3 separate regions of the Homo sapiens genome follow, and all the other regions are linked to region 2. Evidence: promoter capture Hi-C in 16 types of primary human blood cells and fetal thymus (Javierre and others, 2016). All regions are on one chromosome and are shown on one strand. The core of a region is centred on a gene start or on the middle of the fragment in contact, and the rest is flanking DNA. Distances in the headings are between cores, read along the strand shown.

Evidence for each region. Contacts are between HindIII fragments. The CHiCAGO score rates a contact against its expected background, and 5 or more counts as called.
Region 1: a fragment that was not itself captured here is called in contact with the fragment with the promoter of UTY in region 2 in 1 of 17 cell types (fetal thymus); the score reaches 5.1 in fetal thymus.
Region 3: a contact is called between a fragment that was not itself captured here and the fragment with the promoter of UTY in region 2, in 1 of 17 cell types (monocytes). The highest score is 6.4, in monocytes.

Annotation. Positions count from the first base shown.
Region 1 is chrY:13,387,299-13,390,136 of GRCh38, forward strand. The region is part of intron 8 of UTY (ubiquitously transcribed tetratricopeptide repeat containing, Y-linked); the gene reads right to left. Among named protein-coding and RNA genes, the nearest start is that of MIR12120, 90 kb to the right of the region's middle. The HindIII fragment of the contact is 1,410 bases long and covers 622-2,031 here.
Region 2 is chrY:13,478,767-13,481,535 of GRCh38, forward strand. It overlaps UTY (ubiquitously transcribed tetratricopeptide repeat containing, Y-linked), which reads right to left and starts at 1,267. Exons shown (of 30, transcript NM_001258249.2): 1 at 748-1,267; 2 at 488-551. The coding sequence starts at 899. It overlaps MIR12120 (microRNA 12120), which reads left to right and starts at 411; the gene lies at 411-500. The HindIII fragment of the contact is 7,265 bases long and covers 1-2,769 here.
Region 3 is chrY:13,352,688-13,355,387 of GRCh38, forward strand. It overlaps UTY (ubiquitously transcribed tetratricopeptide repeat containing, Y-linked), which reads right to left. Exons shown (of 30, transcript NM_001258249.2): 17 at 2,316-2,700. Among named protein-coding and RNA genes, the nearest start is that of MIR12120, 130 kb to the right of the region's middle. The HindIII fragment of the contact is 8,782 bases long and covers 1-2,700 here.

The sequences.
Region 1 (2,838 bases), core at 77-2,576, 91 kb before region 2:
CAATACTCAAATAACTATTAACACAGGTGGCTTTGGTAATAAATATAGTTAGAGGCAGAGGGAAGAAGAATTCACAGACCCTTTTTCTTTTCATTTTGTACAAACACATTCAAAATTATGCAGCATTATAGTAACAAAATGAATGTTAAAATATCACTAGTTTCTAAATCTGAAAGACTAGTCAGAAAAGGTTTTCCTTTTAAAATTTTTATATTAAATTTTAATTTCTGGCTGGGTGCAGTGGCTCATGCCTGCAATCCCAGCATTTTGAGAAGCTGAGGTGGGTGGATCACCTGAGGTCAAGAGTTTGAGGCCAGCCTGGCAAATGCGGTGAAATCCCTTCTCTACTAAAAATACAAAAATCAGCTGGGCATGGTGGCAGGCATCTATAATGCCAGCTACTAGGGAGGCTGAGGCAGGGGAATCACTCGACCCCGGGAGGCAGAGGTTGCAGTGAGCTGAGATCGCACCAATGCACTCCAGCCTGGGCAACAACAGTGAAACTCTGTCTTAACAACAATAAAAAATTTAATTTCTATGAATAAGACTGGAGCAGCAACTTGCCCACTCAAGTTTTCTACTTCTGGGTAAAATTTCATCATTTATGTTCTGCTAGGAAAAAGCTTCTAGATTTTCAAACTTGTTATATTTTTATACAATAGTTCTAAAATATCTTCTATTAACACATCTGTAACCCTGTAGCAAATTTCTCCAACACTACTTTTAACATTTTTCATTTTTTTCATCTGTGAGAAATATCCATTTGATCTTTTCAAGGATTCAACTTCTGGATTCATTTAGGTAATTTCTAAATACAAAACTAAAATAAAGTAGGCTTAAGGAGATTTACTATGTTAAAAACATGTACAAATAACACCAAAAGAAGTAACAATAGATGATGAAATGCTCCAGTTATCTTATCAAAATGAACAAAAAATATCCAAGAAGAAAACTAACATAGATGTTACTGCATGTTGCATGCAAATAGCATTTGTAGATACTTATGTTATACATGTGTCTTTAAACATTTCACAACATGCATTATAGTAAAGGTCAAATAACATTCCATTGTGTATATATTTAGATACACCCTCCCCTGTTTTCTTCATCCATTCATCTTTCAATGGCCATGTAGTTTGTTTCTTGGCTACTGCAAATAATACTACAATTAGTATGAAGTGCAGACAGATGCTGATGTTGTTTCCTTTGGATATATACGAAGTGAATGGCTGGATTATATGGTAGCTCTATTTTTAATTTTTTAAGTAACCTTCATCTGTTTTCCATAATGGCTGTACCAATTTATATCCCCCACCAGGACTGTATGGTTTGTTCTCTTTTCTCCACATCCTCAGTATCACTTTTAACTTTTTGATTAACATCCACTGATGTAGTTAGGCTTTGTGCCCCCACCCAAATCTCATCTTCAATTGTAATCTCCACAAATACCCACGTGTCAAGGGAGACCAGGTGCATGGGGGTGGTTTCCTCCATGCTGTTCTTGTGATAGTGAGTTCTCACAAGATCTAATGATTTTATTGGGCTCTTCCGTCTCTGCTTGACAATTCTCCTGCCGCCTTGTGAAGAAGTGCCTTGCTTTCCCTCACCTTCTGCCATGATTCTAAGTTTCCAGAGGCCTTCCAGCCATGTAGTACTGTGAGTCAATTAAACCTCTTTCTAAATTTCCCAGTCTTGGGTATGTCTTTATCAGCAGTATGAAAACTGACTAATAAAGCCATCCTAAGATATGAGGTGATATTTCATGATGGATTTGATTTGAAATTCCCTGATTAGTTCTACTAAGCAGTGTGTCATATACCTGTTGACCATTACTATACTTTCTTTGGAAAAATGTCTATCCAGGTCCTTTTGCCCACTTTTACTTGTAGGTTACTTTTTGGTTACTAAGTAATATGAGTTTTGGAGATATTTGGGGTATTAACCCTTATTGGAATTTATGGTTGGCAAGTACCATCTCCCAAACTCCCAGGATGCTTTTAACTTTGTTGATTGCTTTCTTTGCTGTATACAAGCTTTTCAGTTTGATGCAATCCACCTATTTTTGCTTTTATTACCTATGTCTTTAGTGCCACATCCAGAAAAATCACTGCTAAGATCAATGTCATGCAGCTTTCCCTGCTCTTTTCTTCTATTATGGTTTTAAGTCTTATGTTTATAAGTCCTCAATTCATTTTGAGTTGCTTTTTGTGTATGATGTAAGATAAAAATCTAATTCCATTTTTATATATGTGGATGTCCAGTTTTCCCCAAAAAAGACTATCCTTTTCCACTGTATTTTCTTGGATCCTTTGTCAAATACCAGCTGACCCTATCTATGTGGGGTTTTCTTCCAGGCTTTGTATAAAGTACCATTGTTCTATGTATTTTTTTACATACCAGTCACTATCTTACCATTTTCATTACTGTCGCTTTGTAACGTACTCTGAAATTAGGAAGTGTAATGGCCCAGCCTTGTTTATCTTGTCCAAGATTCCTTTAGTTCTTCAGGGTGTCTTTTGATTCCACACAAATTTTACAATAGTTTTTTGTATTTCTGTGCAAATGCCATTGGAATTGTGAGACATCACTTAGTGTAGTATGCACATTATGATAAATACTGATTCTTCTAATCCATGAACGTGGAGAGACCTTGCTATTTATTTCTGTCATCTTCAGCTTCCTTCACGGATGTTTAACATATTTCAGGCTACAGATCTTTCCATTTCTTTTGGGGATGATTCATTATTAACACATACAAATACTATGATATCTGTATGTTAATTTTGTATCCTGAAGCTTTAATAAATTTGTTTTTTTCTTTTTGGTTCTAATAATTTT
Region 2 (2,769 bases), core at 17-2,516:
GCATCAGTTTATAGGTCAAATATCTACTGCAAACTCTTCACCGCTGTAACTTACTTGCTACTTACACTTAGGACACCAGGGATATTTTTTTTAAAAAGGCAAAAAAATGTTTAAAATTAGACACCAAGAGCCAAATACCAAAAGGCGAGGGGAAGAAGCAGGAAGTTATGAATTTTGAAAACTGTACACATTCACTATTTGTGACGCTAAAATTCAGGAACAAAAGGCCCTAAAGTAACAGGCATGTGGTGTAGACCCGGTTTAGCCCGGTCCCAAAGCGTCCGATTTTTTTTTTCCTCAGAGTAGAAGGGAGTCTGGAGCAAGGGGCGAAGTATTCCAGAGTACGGGGACAGCAAAGGCAAGAAACACTTTTCCGACCCCTTGGCCATGGAGCAGAGCCAAAATAAATACTGGCTGGGCGGTAAGGAACGCGGGGCCTTGGTAGAGCAAAGTGCGGACCAAAGACTTTGCGTCTGGTTGCTTTTACCTTGCCTAGTAGGGTCTTCGTTCTGGCGCCATCTTCATGAAGCCTCACGAACCCGAAGAGACGGCTGTAGAGAGAGAGACACAGAGCTTGTTAATGGTCTGAGAAAGCCAGTGACTTGCTCCTTCCCGAGTCCAAGAGCGACAGCGACAGATTGGTGAGTGCCAAGCTGAGGATGACCCCGTCATCAACGTGGGCAAGCTGCGTCCAGGCCTTCCCGGAGAGTATCGCCAGCCAACCAGGCGGGTGATGGAGGTGCGTACCTGTCCATGCCACCAAGCGCCTCCCTTTCCTCGACTGTCAGGCTAACAGACTCCTCTTCACTCTCGCGGCTCGCTTTTCCTTCCGCCATTTTCTTTGCCTCATCACCGAAGGCAACAGCGGCGGTAGTGAGCGACACTGCGCAGGATTTCATGGAAACAACAAATTTCCAAGTCCCACGACGATACCCAACCTTAATCGAGTAGTTGAAAAGACGCCTTCAATCGCTGCTTGAGACTGTGACGCCAATTTTATCGCCTCCTCAGCGGCTGCAAGGAAAAAAGCTGAGGCAAAGACTTAAGCTACCGAAGCACGGGCAGCGGAACTCGGCTACCTGGATCACATCTGGGAAACTACAGGGAAGGCAGAAGCTCGCAGTGCTGGAGAGCACAGCAGAATTTCTTAAAATCACAAACTTTGCCAGCACCAGCACAAAGTTGTAATTGTGTCACGGGCGAACCCCACGCAGCCGCCGCGACCTCCCCGCTCCCAACCACTTAGTTGTAGCCAATCTAGGCGACTGATTCGTCTCACGTGATCTTTGTTGACTTACGTCAGGCATTGCTCCACTGTACTCCTAGGCTGCTGGGACCCCGCCCAGCCAGTTCGCCAAGGACCTAGGAACATGACAGAGGCTGACTGATTCTGACCGCTGGTTGGTTGATGGTCACGTCTATGGAGAAAAGGGTAGTCTCTGGGATGGAACAACCTGTAGGTTGTGCTAGTTAAATGCATTAAGATAGAAAATGGAGTGTCTGTGCTGGGTGTTTTTGCAGTTGCGATACGCTTGAAGGGGAAGAGAGCGATGGGAAGGGCGGCATCGGGCATCACCCACGGGGCGCAAATGCGAAAAGAGGACACCATGGACTTTAGGAGAGTCCGTAATGAGGCTCCCACTGTCACAAGCCTTGCGAATGCGAGACCTTGCGGGGCATGGCAGGGAAGCTGCGCAGGCCCTAAACCTTCACCCTCAAGACTTTTGGCCCTAAGGCCTTGTCACCTCCATAGGCTGGTTCTTTGCCCATTTCCTCTCCACTGACCAAGTCTAAAGAGAAGGCATAATATCTTATGACCTCAGTCGGTAAGCCAGGCCCTAGGGAATCAACGTGGCAACTGCATTTATCAGTTCATGATATTATCTAAACAACAAACGATGAGCAAAAAAAAAAAAAAAAAAAAAAGTTACTCCACAAACCCAAAATGTTTATTTCTATTGTGATAATGATAATTCCGTGAGGTCTCAGTAAGAGTAGGAGCTTCTGTGGACAGGAATTATAAGAACAATAATTAAGACCTTCATCACACTTTCAAGATGCAGTAACCCTTAGAAAAGAAAAAAACACCACTTTTTTCTTACTTTCTCAATTGTAACCAAAATTATAAATAATAGGTAAAAGAATTTATTTCTGAACCCCAAATATCTGAGAGAGGTCTTAGTCAATTTAAAAAGTTTATTTTGCAAGACTTACCCATGATACATTTGCCCAAGGTGGTCAGGGCACAGCTTGCTTTTGTACGTTTTAGGGAAACATGATTGGTTCGGTCAGGTAAGAGGGACAGCTCGAAGCGGGGGCTTCCATGTTAGAAATAGATAAGAGACAGGTCGGGCGCTGTGGTTTACGCCAGTAATCCCAGCACTTTGGGAGGCCGAGGCGGGCAGATGACCTAACGTTGGGAGTTTCAGACCAGCGTCACCAACATGGAAAAACCCCGTCTCTACTAAAAATACAAAATTAACAGAGCATGGTGGCGCATGCCTGTAATCTCAGCTACTCTGAAGACTGAGGCAGGCGAATCGCTTGAACCCAAGAGGCGGAGGTTGCGGTGAGCCGAGATGGCACCATTGCATTCCAGCCTGGGCAACAAGAGCAAAACTCCGTCTCAAAAAAAAAAAAAAAAAAAAAAATGTAGATAAGAGACAAGAGTTTGCATGCTTTTGAGTCCTTGATCAGCCTCCTACTGAATACAGAATTTAGTCCGGCTAGTAACTCTGTATTTTTACATAAATAAATAATAAGGCAGAG
Region 3 (2,700 bases), core at 49-2,548, 130 kb before region 2:
ACTAGCCCTCTTGTACCAGTTAGCTGAGTTGTGAAGGCCAAGGAAAGTAAAACTGTTACTCCCATGGACATACAAATGTTAAGAAAGCAAAACAACCTTATTGATGATATAAAGAAAGTTTTAGTGGTCTAGATAAAAGCTGTCTCATCACTGACAATATTCCCTCAAGCCAAAGCCTAATCCAGAAAAAGGGTGTAAACCCCTCCTTCAAATCTATGAAGGCTGACCGTGGTAAGGAAGCTGCAGAAGAAAAGTCTGAAGCCAGTAGAAGTTGGTTTATGAGGGAGAAGGAAAGAAGTCATCTCCATAATATAAGTAAGTGCAAGGTAAAGCAGCAAGTTATCCAGAAGACCTAGCTAGTATCATTGATGAAGGTGGCTACACTAAACAATAGATTTTCAATGAAGATTACAGTGGAAGAAGATGTGATTTAGGTCTTTTCTAACTAGAGAGAAGTTAACACCTGGTTTCAAGGCCTCAAAAGACAGGCTGACACCTTTGTTAGGAACTAATAAGGCTGGTGACTATAAGCTGAAGGCAATGCTCATTTATCATTCTGAAAATCCCACAGCCCTAAAGAGGTATGCTAAATCCACTCTGCCTGTGCTTTATAAATGGGATAACAAAGCCTGTGTGATAGCCCAACTGTTGACATCATGGTTTACTGAATACTTTTAAGTCTATATGGATAGCTACTACTCAGAAAAAGAGATTCCTTTCAATATACTATTCCTCATTAAATATACATTTGGTCATTCAAGAGCTCTGACAGATGTAAAAAGAGATTAAATTTGTCTTCATGCCTAACACAGTATCTATTCTGCGGCTCATGGATCAAGAAGTAATTTTGACTTTAAGTCTTATTATTTAAGAAATACATTTCATTTCATAAGTCTATATATAACTAACACAGACAGCAATTCCTCTAATAAAGCAAAGGAAAGGGAAAACTTTCTGAAAAGGATTCAGTCATTCAACATGTCATTAAGGACTTTCATGATTCATGGGAGGAGGTCAAAATGAATGTGGAAGAAGTTGATTCCAATCCTCATGGATGACTTTGAGGTGTTCAAGACTTCAGTTGAGGAAGGAACTACAGATGTAGAAATGGCAAGACAGTTTGACAGGTGGAGCCTGAAGAAGTGACTGAATTGCTGCAAGTGCACAACAAATTTTGAATGGATTAGAAGTTGTTGTTTCAGGGATGAGAAAAGAAAGTGGTTTTCTGAGAGGAAATCCACTCCTGGGGAAATGCTGTGAACACTAACTACTGTGATACAAACAAACGATTTGGAATATTACATAAATTTATTTGATAAAGGCAGTGGCAAAGTTCAAGAGGATTGACTCTAACTTTGAAAGAAGTTATATCATTGGGAAAACATCAAATAGCATGGCATCCTACAAAGAAATCTTTCAAGAAACAAAGAGTTTGTTGGGCACGGTGGCTCATGCCTGTAATCCCAGCACTTTCGGAGGCCGAGGTGGGCACTTCACTTGAGATCAGGAGTTTGAGACCAGCCTGACAAACATGGTGAAACCCCATCTCCACCAAAATTACAAAAATTAGCTAGGAGTGGTGGCATGCGTGTAGTCCCAGCTACTTTGGAGGCTGAGGCAGGAGAATCATTTGAACCTAGAAGGCAGAGGTTACAGTGAGCCAAGATAGCCCCATTGCACAGGCTGGGCAACAGAGTGAGACTCTGTCTCAAAAAAAAAGGGAGGCAGGGAAGGAGAGAGGGAGGAAAGGAAGAGAGGGAGCAAGGAAGGAAGGAAAGAGGGAAGGAAGGGAGGGAAGATCACAGTAGCAAATATCGTTGTTGTCTTAAGGGGTCACAGCCACTTCATCAGCAAACACCATCCTGATCAATGAGCAGTCATCACCATAGAGGCAAGACCGTCTACCGCCAAAAAAATTATGACTTGCTTAATGATCACAGGCTTTCTTTTTTTAAGCAATAAAATATTTTCAAAGTAAGATGTTGTTTGCTTACACAAATTATAATTGCAAACTGACATAATATAGTGTAAACATAACTTTTATATGCACTAAAAAATAAAACTAAATTAGTGTGATTGGCTTTATTATGATACTCACTTTATTGCAGTTGTCTTGTATGAAACCTGTAAGATGTCCAAGGTAGGCCTGTAATGATCCTGGTATCACTTAAAAGTTTTATACTCTTATCAATTACTTAAATTACTTTTTAAAGACAAAGCCATTCTTTAAATTTCTATCTTTTTAGAATGTACACAAACTAAATAAAGATAAACTACTATATAAGAGCCAAGAAAGCAGCTAGTCCTTTTTTTACCTGAGCGGAGTTAGATAGCTGTTTTCTCCATGGCTCTTCTGTGCTGCTGTTCAGGTCTGTATGATTATGAGGTAGAGTGTGTGTATTTTGCTGCAGGTAAGGCACATTTCCATTACTTTCACTTCCTGCTATACAATTACTGCCTAGCAAGATAGTGTCTGTACTTCCTAGAATTTTTGATGTGCCACAAGGAATACAGCCTGCAGAAAAAGCTCCACTGGACAAAAGTTTTTCAACACAAGCAGGGCGAACTCCAGGCTGAGAGACGCTAGATACTCTGGTCAGAGCACCATGTGGTTGTCGATTAGAGACAGAGTTTGTAGGCAGTGATGAATCAGTTATGGCCCCGTTATGAATTCCAGTAGTTCGTACCTGAGCAACTTCT